Regions from separate parts of the Homo sapiens genome. Here regions 1, 2 and 4 are each linked to region 3. The links are contacts of gene promoters, found by promoter capture Hi-C in blood cells and fetal thymus (Javierre and others, 2016). All regions are on one chromosome and are shown on one strand. The core of a region is centred on a gene start or on the middle of the fragment in contact, and the rest is flanking DNA. Distances in the headings are between cores, read along the strand shown. Region 1 has its middle 11 kb from the start of MSANTD5. Region 2 has its middle 76 kb from the start of RUFY1. Region 3 holds the start of ZNF879 (zinc finger protein 879). Region 4 has its middle 27 kb from the start of CLK4.

The links. The method cuts DNA at HindIII sites, captures the fragments that hold promoters and counts their contacts. A CHiCAGO score of 5 or more calls a contact.
Region 1: a contact is called between a fragment that was not itself captured here and the fragment with the promoter of ZNF879 in region 3, in 4 of 17 cell types (monocytes, naive CD8 T cells, total CD4 T cells and 1 more). The highest score is 6.4, in monocytes.
Region 2: a fragment that was not itself captured here is called in contact with the fragment with the promoter of ZNF879 in region 3 in 1 of 17 cell types (endothelial precursors); the score reaches 5.3 in endothelial precursors.
Region 4: a contact is called between a fragment that was not itself captured here and the fragment with the promoter of ZNF879 in region 3, in 1 of 17 cell types (erythroblasts). The highest score is 6.8, in erythroblasts.

What each region holds. Positions count from the first base shown.
Region 1 is chr5:178,706,988-178,710,223 of GRCh38, forward strand. It overlaps a transcript of MSANTD5 not described here. Among named protein-coding and RNA genes, the nearest start is that of MSANTD5, 11 kb to the left of the region's middle. The HindIII fragment of the contact is 777 bases long and covers 868-1,644 here.
Region 2 is chr5:179,473,221-179,476,469 of GRCh38, forward strand. No RefSeq gene overlaps it. Among named protein-coding and RNA genes, the nearest start is that of RUFY1, 76 kb to the right of the region's middle. RefSeq lists an enhancer at 1-165. The HindIII fragment of the contact is 1,497 bases long and covers 1,197-2,693 here.
Region 3 is chr5:179,022,430-179,025,665 of GRCh38, forward strand. ZNF879 (zinc finger protein 879) reads left to right here and starts at 1,375. Exons shown (of 5, transcript NM_001136116.3): 1 at 1,375-1,475; 2 at 2,541-2,608. The coding sequence starts at 2,576. RefSeq lists an enhancer at 1,003-1,504. The HindIII fragment of the contact is 13,349 bases long and covers 1-3,236 here.
Region 4 is chr5:178,652,021-178,655,149 of GRCh38, forward strand. No RefSeq gene overlaps it. Among named protein-coding and RNA genes, the nearest start is that of CLK4, 27 kb to the left of the region's middle. The HindIII fragment of the contact is 1,957 bases long and covers 690-2,646 here.

The DNA of each region.
Region 1 (3,236 bases), core at 6-2,505, 320 kb before region 3:
ATCTCAGCTGTGTCTCTGGATACACCCGTCTCTCCAGATTTCACAGTTGTGACTTCAGTTCTCAGAAAGATAAAAGTCACTGCTTTTCAGCTTGACTAGCTTTTTCTTATAAGGATAGGGGTGACTACTTCCAAGCCGTTTGCATGTTGTAGTTGAAACTGGGGGTTCCAACAAATTTCTGAGTGCTAGAGAATGAAAGAGAGAATTGAAGAATGAAGAATAGAAGAATATCGAATGACAACAGAATCACAAAAGTCCTTTAACTGCTCAGTTTAAACAGTTTAAATGCCGAGGAAGGGAACAATTTCATGATGACTTCAGTGTCAATAGGATGGCTATCAGAGGTTGTCTGTGTAGCATCATGCAGAAACGCAGAATATGGATAGGACACCTTCTACAGCCTACTTCAGGCTTTGCTTTAATTTTGAATAACAATTGTTTGCACTTCTGGCGGGGCGCGGTGGCTCACTCCTGTAATCCCAGCACTTTGGGAGGCTGAGGCGGGTGGATCATGAGGTCAGGAGTTCGAGACCAGTCTGGCCAACATGGTGAAACCCCATCTCCACTAAAAATACAAAAAAAAAAAAAAAAAAAAAAAAAAAATTAGCCGGGCATGGTGGCAGGTGCCTGTAATCCCAGCTACTTGGGTGGCTGAGGCATGAAAATCGCTTGAACCCGGGAGGCGGAGGTTGCAGTGAGCCGAGATCTTACCATTACACTCCAGGCCAGGCGACAATGCGAGACCCCGTCTCAAAAAAAAAAAAAAAAATTGTTTGCACTTCTACACATCTACATAAATTTGTATTTGTATTATATCAACCAAAGGAATACAATTTGACTTATTAACTCAATTTAGTTTCTGCAAAAAGCTTCAATTTCCCAGGTCTCATCTAGAAGGGATAAGATAGCTTTATAAGCACAGGTTTTCAAAAGAAAAACATTGCAGAGGCAAAAAAAAAAAAAAAAAAAAAAAAAAAAAAATTCTCATTGTGATTATTTGCATCTGGGGTTATACTGTAAAAAGAGACATTTTAGATCTTTTATATAGTCTCTAATAGTAAACAGAAAGATTACATTTTTATTACTGCAGATTTTATCCTGGCACTTGAAAATTCGTTTGCAATTTTGGAAGCAGGAAATACTTTTGGTGTGTTTCCATTGGTCATTTGAGCTGAAAAGATTGAGTGTGGAAAGTCATTACAATTTCTGCTATGGTTGTTTTATTTTTATCTGAATTTCCTTTCATCGGAAAATTTGTTACTTTATCCGTTTCTTTAGCACTATTTGAGGAAATCATCTATCACTTAGGCTTAGCTGTTAGTATATCCTGCCTTATATCTGACTTTCCAATATGTTCAATACTGAATGAACAATTGTGTACTGTAGAAAGAGCTTCAAAACATCTTTTCTCTGATACCAAATATTTTAAAAATTAATCATGAAACTTATACTTGCATTTTGATTCAAATATACATAAATGAAAATAGGCAATAGGGTAGATCTCATATTAAGTATCCTTAACACAAAATATAAAATAAAAAATAAGTTAATAACAATAATTGAAAATACTAATTTCGATCATCTCACTCACAAGAGTGAAGCATAATTACCAATAAATTGAGGCTGAGCTATTGAAAGGTTGGAAGCTTACAAACTAACAATAAACTTGAACTTGATATGTGACACAGAAAAGTCGAACTTGATGCATGCCTGCAAGGGAGAACTGTGTTTGCAGTAACAGGATCCCTGAAGAAAGCCAGAGCTGATCTTATCCAAAATTTTAAGCAGCTCAGTGTCTGGGACTGGCGAATTTTCAGAGGCAGGGATGTTTATGGACTGTTAGATTTTCAAGCGTGTTAGTGTGGTCACTGGAATTAGACGGTTGTCGACTGGCTAACTTCCAGAAGCACGGTCACTGGAAGGAGGGACTTGCTGACCAACCGTGGTCTAGAAGCAGCACTCAAGTGGCATTCAGAAGCTGGAGGCTGTCAGGAAGTTGATTTCAGAAGCATGGCTGCTGGCAGCGAGGCCATCATTGATTTTTCAGACCACGTGTACTGATCCAAAGATCTAATTATTGGGGATTATTTTACAACTTAGGAATTTGGCCAAAAGAACAGTCTTTTCCTTTCTTTAATACGGAAAACAAGTACTTTTATTCTCACTTCCCCCTTTTGCCTTCCCTCAGTCAAACACATAGGATAAAACATAAGAGATGGTTCAGATCTTTATTTGTGGAGGTATGATTTCCAACTTGTATTGCCACTTAAGCGATTTAAGCGCCAATTACTGAAGCAGAACCGTAGCTCAAAGTGCTGATTTTTCATTAATGAGGGGAGAAACCCTGAATACATTTAAGGCATCCTAACAAAGTTAATACAGGATTCAGGACAAAATCATTAAATACAGGACGTTTGGCAACCCTACCTGTGAGTCAGCTTTCTCCTCACTTGCCACTCTCACCTATTTGCCTATGAAAACCATGCCTTATTTATTCTAATACATGATTATCTGTCTCCTGTTCTCCATCAATGCTGTCCCTGTTTGAGTTGGAACCCTCATTTACCTATTACTTGAATTTAAACAGCCCAGATTTCCTGGGTGGCATCAGTCATCAGCTTTCTTCAACCCCATACGCTTATCTTCTATGGAATTTCCCTTGCTTACCATCTTTGACTCCACCGATTTTACCATAAAATCCAAACTCCTTAGCTTGGCAAATAAGGCCTTTTGTGATTTGGCTTCTGCCTTCTACTCGAGCTTTAACATTTGTCATTTTCCTGCTCACTAGTTCTAAATTAAGTTTTCCAAATGTCCTATTATCCACCTGTGGTTTGGCGCATGCTGTTTCCTCTTAATCGGAATGCTTCTGTCTCCCTCGGAGTTCCTACTATTCTCCCCAAATATAGCCCAGGCATCATTGCCCCTGGAAAGCTTTGATGTCTCCAGGCTTTCTTCATGAGTCTCTTTCTTCATCCTGTGCAAATCTTTACAATATTTTCATAGTGGAACATATTGTCATAACTTATTTGCCTACTGAAACAACAAAAACTGCAATATAATCTGCTTGCTCATTTGCTAGCCCAACTCCATCCCCTTCCCAATTCATGGCTTCTTGAAGAAAAGCCTGTGTCTGTCTTAAAACTTGTACAGTTTTAAAACTTGTAAACTTGTATAGTACCTGCTCCAAAGTTAAAAAATATTTACTGTTGAGAAAAACTTAGGACTGTAATGTC
Region 2 (3,249 bases), core at 695-3,194, 450 kb after region 3:
CATACCATAAAATTCACCCATGTGAAGCATACAGTTTAATGATTTTTAGAATATTCACAGTGGTACAACCAACACCACCATCTAATTTTAGAACATTTTCAGCATCCTTAAAAGAAATCCCAGCGACATCAACAGCCACTCCCTTCTGTTTCATTCTCCACCTGAGACTTTTTTTTTTTTATTAGACAGAGTCTCACACTGTCACCTAGGCTGGAGTGCTGTGGCGTGATCTCGGCTCACTGCAACCTCCGCCTCCCGGGTTCAAGCGATTCTCCTGCCTCAGCCTCCCGAGTAGCTGGGGCTACAGGCACCCATCACCATGCCCAGATAATTTTTGTATTTTTAGTAGAGATGGGGTTTCACCATGTTGGCCAGGATGGTCTCAATCTCTTGACCTCGTGATCTGCCCGCCTCGGCCTCCCAAAGTGCTGGGCTTACAGGCATGAGCCACCAGTGCCGGGCCGAGATTGGCTTTTAATTTGTTGCATGTTTGCATGGTTCAAAAGTCAAAATGACATGATGAGGCATAAAATAAGTATAGGCTGGGCACGGTGGCTCACACGTATAACCTCAACACTTTGGGAGATCAAGGCAGGAGGATCACTTGAGGCCAAGAGTTCAAGACCAGCTTAGGCAACATAGCGAAGCCCCATCTCTACAATTTTTAATTAAACTTAGCCAGGCATAGTGCCGTGTGCCTGTATTTAGCCGGGCATAGTGGTGTGTGCCTGTATTCCCAGCTACTCGAGAGGCTGAGGCAAGAGGACTGCTTAAGCCCAGAAGTTCGAGGCTGCAGTGAGCCATGATCACACCATTGCACCTCCAGCCTGGGCAAGAGTGCAAGACTGTGTCTCTAAAAAATTAAAAATTAAAATGGGGTATAAAACTATACAAAAAAAATTCTAACTCCCATCTTCATCTTCCCCACAATTGTCTCTCTCACACTCACATAACCATTTTTATTCATTTTCTGTTTATTTTTCTGTATTTCTTTATACAACTACAACAAGGAAATGCAAATATATTTATTCCTATTTTCCACTCTTTTCTTACAGAAAGGTAACATCATTGATACAGTATCTTGCACCTTCTTTTTTTTCTTACTATATCCTGAAGTAGCTCCTTATTCTTTCTTCCAGTTGTGTTTCATGTTTATTCAGCCAGCTCCCCATGGGCAGGCCCTTGGCTTGTTTCCAAGCTTTTACCATTACAAACAGTGCTGTAGTGTATAACCTCGTTCATGGGTCATTTTATACTCGTGAATATCTGTCTGTAGAATAGATTTTCAGAGGTAGGATTGCTGGGTCAAAGGATAAATACATTTTTTTGTTTGTTTGTTTGTTTTTTGTTTTTTTTGAGACGGAGTCTTGCTCTGTCGCCCAGGCTGGAGTGCAGTGGCACCATCTCAGCTCACTGCAAGCTCCGCTTCCCGGGTTCACGCCATTCTCCTGCCTCACCCTCCTGAGTAGCTAGGAATACAGGTGCCCGCCACCATGCCTGGCTAATTTTTTGTATTTTTAGTTGAGACGGGGTTTCACTGTGTTAGCGAGGATGGTCTCGATCTCCTGACCTCGTGATCCACCCGCCTCGGCCTCCCAAAGTGCTGGGATTACAGGCATGAGCCATCGCGCCCGGCCAATACATTTGTATTTTTTATAAGCAATGCCAAACTGCTCTCCATAAGGTTTGTACAATTTTGTATTCTCCACAACCAAACCTGTTTCCTCACAGCCACACCAACGATGTATTTTACAATTTTGGATTTTTGCCAAATTGAATTGCGCAAAATGATGTCTAAGGGCAATTTAATTTGCATTTCTCTTATTACAACTGGGGTTGAGCATCTCTTGATGTTTAAGGATCATTTGCATTTCATTCTGTATGAACTATTTCTTTCTTTTGCCCATTTTTTCTTTGTAGTCCTTGGTCTCTTTCTTAGGAAAGTAAAAGCTATCTTTATCTATTACTGCATGACAAACTACCTCAAAACCTAATGGCTTAAAGCGACATAATTTATTATTCCTCAGGATTCTGCGGGTCGAGTGGGCACAGCTGGGTGGCTCTTGCTCTACTTGCTACCAGCTGGGCTTACTCACTCGGCTACATTTGGCCGGCAGCTTGGCTGAGCTGGATGGTCCACCAAGCCTTCACTCACTTGTCGAGTGCCTTTGTGCTCGTCTGCATAGCCACGTCACCTCGGCTGGGGCCTCCTCACAGCGTGGTGGTCTCAGGGAAGTCAGCCTTCTTACATAGCAGCTGGCTTTCAAGAGGGAGGAAACAGAAGCTGCCAGTCCTCTTAAGGCCTGGATTCCAACGTCAGGAAATGTCACTTCTGCATTCCTTTGGTCATAGAAAGTCACAAGGTCAGCCCAGATTTAAGGAATAGGAAATAGACCCCACCTCTGGGTGGGAGAAGTGGTGTGGGCTGCAGGGAAGGAACGCACTGGTGGCCGTCGGGGCCAAAGACCGGGGATAGACGGGGAGAGCGGGGGCAGCCGCTGGCATCACCGTGAGCCTGTCTTAGCCCTTGGGGGCATCGTGAGGTTGGATTCTTTAAAGACAGGGCTCCGAGGGTTGGGAATCTTGAGGGCTATAACAATACTAAAAACTGAGGACACGCATACATTTCGTTGTGATTTTCGGTGGAGGAACTTAGTGAAGGTGGTGTTACGGGGTCGGGGAGAAAATGTAAAAGCTTGGCCGTGGGTGGGTTGGGGCCGACCCTTTCTCCCACCGGTTTATGGCTGGAGAAGGTGGGAGATGTCAACTCCATTTAGGGGACTGGAGGGACCTGGACAGTTTTGAAGGGGAATTTGAGAGTTGAATTTGAGTGTGCGCTTGTAAAGGACTCAACCCTGCCAGTCGCGGTTCAAGATCAGGGTTGGCTGTAGGTGGGAGGCCGTGCAGTTCCTGGGAAAGCTAACTCACCGCGGTGTCTTTTCTGTCTCACGCCGAGAAGAGCCCTGTTTGTGCTCCGCTACTGCCTGGAGTCTCCAGAGGACGCAAACGGGCGAGGGGATGTGTGGGGAGAAGTACTTGCTTTTTCTTGCTTTCTTCTTTACAGAATTTGTTCTTTTCCCACAAGGCCACTCTAGCCACACCAGGAGCTTTCTCAGAAGCAGTCACAATCTTTTTCCTTTTTTTGTTTTCAGACAAGGTCTCACAAATGACAAACAACAAGACAAATGACAAACAGGCAAAAAAAAAAAATCTTTTTTCTTCCAAGATAAAACCCAAATTGATTCAGCA
Region 3 (3,236 bases), core at 125-2,624:
AATTAAATATAGAAATAACATATGGTCCAGAAATGGAATTGCCCATGTGTTAATTCTACATTTAATTTTTTTTTGAGGAACTGCCATACCGTTTTCCAGCGCAGCGCTACCATTTTACATTCCCACCATTAAGGCACAAGGATTGTTTTCTGGTTTTCTTTTTTTTCCAAATTTTATAATAGCCAACCTAATGAGTGTGAAATCGCAGTGGATGTTTGATCTGCTTTGATCTGCATTCCCCTAATGATTAGTGATGTGCATTATTATCTTTTAACAATATAAAACATCCATTTTGTTCGATTTAATTATTTTTACATTGCAATAATCTTTGTATTGTTGTAACATCGTGATCCAAGATTTCTTTTTCATATTATCTACCTGATATCTCTTAGTCCCTCTCTGCATTTTCTATCTTCAAGTACCCTTTGTGTTTAGGTTTGTCTCTGTAAACGCTAATGTTTGATATTTTAAAAATCAACACTTTCTGAGCACATAGTATTTGGCGTGTACAGTGCCGGTCACCGAGGATGCAGTTGTGATGATAGCGCTGGGAGTTGGGCTTTATTTTACGTTTTAAAGAAGTCACTTCAAAAGAAGTGAGTGCCATGAAGAGGGAAATACTAGGCTTATGCTTTTGTTTTACTCTGAGTGCCAGTAAATATGTAAAGATTACAAAAATTTATTTATTTATTTATTTATTTATTTGAGACAGAGTCTTGCTCTGTCACCCAGGCTGGAGTGCAATGGCGCGATCTGAGCTCACCGCAACCTTCGCCTCCCAGGTTCAAGCGATTCTCCTGCCTCAGCCTCCCGAATAGCTGGGATTACAGGCATGTGCCACCACGCCCGACTAATTTTTCGTGTTTTCGTAGAGACAGGGTTGCACCATGTTGGCCAAGATGGTCTCGGTCTCCTGACCTTGTGATCCGCCCACCTCGGCCTCCCAAAGTGCTGCGATTACAGGCATAAGCCACCGCGCCCGGCCGAGATTATAAAATTTAGACATAATTCATTTTTAATTAAAATCGCAGAATGGACTGTAATAGTTCTGTCACCACCTGCGAATAATCAGCAGCGGCTAGTCTTCCAGATTTAAAAATTCATACTCACTTTTCCGTCTTACTATTTTTGTCATTCTAATTACGAATACAATGGGTGGTTTAGCGGAGGGAGAGTAGTTGGAGCCCAAGCTGAGGGACTCGGCTTCAGCCTTCTCGAACTCCACAGCCCGACCGCGTTCTCCGCTCTCGGCGCTGTGGTTCTCTCTCGGACACCGTAAGTGGTGGTGCCGCAGCGACGTCTGGGAAATGAAGTCCGGAGGGACAAACGCTGCGGTTCAGCCAGGGAAACCCGTCGGCTCTCCGGCGCGCAGGCGCAGTTGCGCCCGGCAGCGACGGGAAACGTCTCTGAATTAGGTGTTCCGCTCGCCTCTTGTGCGGTGTGGAGCTGCGCGCCCCCCGCCGAGGCGGGCCCAGGTACAGGCTGCCGGTGAGGGCGGGCCCGGGGCGTGCGGCTGCCGCGGCGGGACCAGGACGAGGGCTGGCCTCTGCGCGTGTCTGCCGAGTCCCCGGCTCCGGGCGTCCGAGCCGGGGCGGCCTCGGCAGGTGAACCCGGCCCCGGAGGGGGCGTGGCCTGGGAAGGGCCTGGCGGAGGCCGGGAGGGCGCTTCGACGCCGCTGGACTCCTGGGCCGCAGCCTGGGCCGGACTCCGGGGGAAACGGCTCCAGAACAGAAACTGCAAAATGCCGCCTCGGTTCAGGGTCCGGAGCCCTCCGGGCGGTTTTTCGCTCTTAGTGTTTGTGGGTTTAAGCCTCCCCCTACTCCGTTTCCCGGAGTTTAAACTTTAGATTTACTCGTTTTTGGCAGTCTTGCACGTTTGGCAGTGTTTTCCTACAGCCAGTCCTAGAGTGATTTAACTATTTCTTTTTTTATTTACCGTAACCATGTCCACTTGCTACGTTTCTTCCCATTTCTCTAAATTTTAAATCAATTTCTAGCTAGTGATGCTGTTTTCTTGCGCCCTTGTTTTTTTGGGGCCAGGGAGAATGGGTAACGCTACCTTTAAGCAGCTTTGATAACTGTTTTTGATAAAGGAAGTAAATCTTACAAGAGGAAGAAAAGAGGACTAATTTTTGGTTGGCTGTTCCTAAAAAAGAGCATCAGTTCTTCAACTGCTGTTTTTCGTATTGAACAACATCCAAGTGCAGATGTGTGGAATATTGTGTCATTTCCTATTACTTTATCTGAATGAGCCTTGCCTGATTCTGCCCTTGACCCTGTTAAGGCACGGCAGATGGTCTTCATCCCTTCGCTCCTTTCGTCTTTATCGTAAAGCACTGGCAGAAAGGTAGCAGGCCCGGTGACTCTGAACCTGCTTCCCACACTGGTTTAAGTGGCCGGACTTAGGGCCCCTCTGGCCTGGGCAGTTCCAGGCTCCTTCTCTGCAGGTGCTCAGCTTATGGCTTCTAACCTGGTCTGGCCTAATGAGGGTGGGCATGCAGGCTGGATGAAAAGACCTCACAGCTTTTTTCTCCATTCCAGGTGCCTTCTCCAAGAGAGGCAGCAGGGAGGGAGAAATGGCAAGGAGGTTGCTGCCAGCCCATGTACAGGTGAGTGAAGGCTTCTTTTTGCTTGAACTGCCTTCAGGGTCTAGACGTGGTAAACTTCTTCATCTGTTGTTGAGCTTCTCTACCCAGTGAAGCTCAGGGAAGGACCAGAGGGCTTGGTAGCTGAGAAACTCTGGAAGGAAGGTGTTTCCCTTGCCTCAGAGCCTGTCTCATGCTTTTTTTTTTTTTTCTTTCCCTTTTTTGAGACAGGGTCTCACTCTGTTACCCAGGCTGGAGTGCAGTGGCACGGACATGGCTCACTGCAGCCTCAACCTCCCTGGTAGCTGGGACTACAGGCATGTGTGCCACCACACCCAGCTAATTTTTGTATTTTTAGTAGAGACCAGGCTTCAACAAGTTGGCAAGGCTGGTCTTGAACTCCTGACCTCAAGCAATCTGCCCGCCTCAGCCTCCTAAAGTGTTGGGACTATGGGCGTGAGCCACCGCGCCCGGCCCCCAGTCTCATGCTTTTTGACAAAGAATTTAATGGGGCTCCAATGCCAGGCCACTGCCACTACCAGAGCTTTGTGAAAGATCCAGGTGTTTTTGCCCTGTGGAGGACAAAGACACGGAGGAGTTAAATAATTCCTTCCTAACACGGGGAATTTGAAAAAGAGAGGCCCTGTATTCC
Region 4 (3,129 bases), core at 418-2,917, 370 kb before region 3:
GTGAATGAATGGGTTACAGAACAATGGAAGTAAATCAAACACATAAATCACACTTCCAGCCGGGCGGTGGCTCACGCCTGTAATCCTAGCACTTTGGGAGGCTGAGGTGGGTGGCTCACACCTATAATCCCATCACTTTGGGAGGCTGAGGTGGGTGGATCACTTGAGGTCAGGAGTTTGAGAGCAGCCTGTCCAACATGGTGAAACCCCGTCTCTGCTACAAATACAAAAAACTAGCCAGGCGTGGTGGTATGCGCCTGTAATCCTAGCTACTCGGGAGGCTGAGGCAAGAGAATCGCTTGAACCCGGAAGGCGGAGGTTGCAGTGAGCCAAGATTGTACCACTGCACTCCACCCTGGGCAACAGAGTGAGACTCCATCTTAGAAAAAATAAATAAATAAAAGTAAATCACACTTCCACTCAGTTTCTCAGCCATGCAGGGTACACCTGCTTACTGTATCTTTCCCAAGAGCCATATAATTATGAAAAGAATAAGACTTTCCCTTTTATTATTTTAAAGACGGAGTATAAAAAGTATTTGTTCCTTTAAGACCACTTTATTGAGGTATGATTGACATATAAAGAGCTGTACATATTTAATGTATCCAACTCGATGAATTTAGGCATAAGTATACCCCTGTGAAACCATCACCACCACCAAGGCCATAGACATGCCCATCACTTTCCCAAGCTTCCTCCCACCCCCTTTTTTATTATCATTATTATTTTGTGGTAAGAGCACTTAATAGAAGATCTGCCCTCTTAGCGAATTTTAAGTATCCAAGACAGTATTGTTAGCTATAGGCACTATGCTGTAGTAGGTCTCTAGAATTTATTTATCTTGCATAACTAAAATTTTGTACCTTTGACCATCACTTTCCATTTCTCCTCCTCCAGCCCTTGGCAACCACCGTCCTGCTCTCTACTTCTATGAGTTCGACCATTTCAAGTTCCTCATCACACTGAAACCAGGCAGTATTTGTCTTTCTGTATGTGGCCTATTTCGGTTAGCATGATGTCCTCCAGGCTCAGCCAAATTGTCACAAGTGGCAGAATGTCACTTCTGTTTTTATGACTGAACCCCATTCCATTGCATATACATACCATGCTTCTTCATCCATTCCTCCGTCGATGGACATGTCGGTTGTTTCCATATCTTGGCTATTGTGAATAACACTGCAGCGAGCATGGGAGGGCAGTGTCTCTTTGAGATCCTGATTTCAGTTCCTTTGGATAAATACCCAAAATTAGGATTGCTGGATCATATGATCGTTCTATTTTTAATTGTTTGAGTAACCTCCACACCGTTTTCCATAATAGCTGTACCAATTTACATTCACGCCAATAATGTATCAGAGTTTCTGTTTTCCCACATATTCGCCAACACTTATCTTTTCTTTTTTTTTTGAGACAGAGTTTTGCCCTTGTTGCCCAGGCTGGAGTGCAATGGTGCAATCTCGGCTCACGACGACCTCCACCTCCCGGGTTCAAGCGATTCTCCTGCCTCAGCCTCCTGAGTAGCTGGGATTACAGGCATGCACCACCATGCCTGGCTAATTTGTATTTTCAGTAGAGACAGGGTTTCTCCATGTTGGTCAGGCTGGTCTCGAACTCCTGACCTCAGGTGATCCGTCCACCTCGGCCTCCCAAAGTTCCGAGATTACAGGCGTGAGCCACTGCGCCCGGCCATTTCGTTTTTAATATAATAGCCATCCTCCCAATGAGGTGATCTCTGATTATGATTTTTTTTTTTTTTTGAGACGGAGTCTTGCTCCTGTTACCCAGGCTGGAGTGCAATGGCGCAATCTCGGCTCACTGCAACCTGCACCTCCCAGGTTCCAGCGATTCTCCTGCCTCAGCCTCCCAAGTAGCTGGGGTTACAGGCATGCGCCACCACGCCCAGCTAATTTTTGTGTTTTTAGTAGAGACAGGCTTTCACCATGTTGGCCAGGCTGGTCTCAATCTCCTGACCTCAAGTAATCTGCCCGCCTCGACCTCCCAAAGCCCTGGGATTACAGACGTGAGCCACCACACCCAGCCAGTACCCATTTTTAAATTGGGTTATTTGGAGGTTTCTTTGCTAGTGAACTGTTTGAGTTCCTTGTATATTGTGGTTGTTAACCTTTTATCAGGTATGTGGGTTGCAGACAGTTTCTCCCATTCTGTAGGTTTTCTTTTCAATTGTTTCCTTTGCTCTGCAGACCTTTTAGTTTGATATAATCCCACTTGTTTATTTTTACTTTTGTTGTCTGTGCTTTTGTTGTCATGTCCAAACAATTATCACCAAGACCAATGTCAAGGAGCTTTTCCTCTACGTTTTCTTCTAGAAGTTTTACAGTTTCAGGTCTTACGTTTAAATCCTTCATACATTTTTAGTTGATTTTTGTGTATGATGTAAGAAAGGAGTTCAGTCTCATTCTTTTGCCTGTGGATATCCAGTTTTCCACACCATTTATTGAAGAGACCATCCTTCCTCTGTTTTATTTTCTTGGTGCCTTGTTGAAGGTAAGTTGACCATGTGTATGGGGAAGAGCATTATTCCTGGCTTCTCTACTCGGCACCATTGGTCTAGGTGTCCATTTTTAGGCTAGTACCATACCGTTTTGATTACTACAGCTAAAGTAGTAGCTTTCTTCACCGAAAGGAAGCTTAACAGTATTATTCATAAACCGTAAAATTTTAGTTTACTAGGGTAGAATCTTTCAAAAATGGCATATGGGAAAGTATAAACGGATGGGTTTCTCACTAAGAGAAACTCTGAGCCCAATTTAGGACCATGAACAGATTAATTTCTGTTTATACTAAACAAAGTGTTATGTAGAGAATCTCTTCAATCTAATACTGTTTCTTATGCTAAAATATAGCTGTCTTTTTTTTAAAAACTATTTAGTTTAGAAGCCATTTCAATTTATACATTTCCCATACTTCTGTTCTTCCAAAAGATAAACACATACAAACACCTCGTGGTTTCTTTTGAAATTCCTTCCATGAGAAAGGTGAGCAGGAAGAAACGGACAACAGCTACAAGCCTGTCATACTCTTGTTGGATTAAGAATCTGGGAACCGTTGGTCGGGTGCAGTGGCTCACACCTGTAATCCCAGCACTTTGGGAGGCCAAGGTGGGTGGAT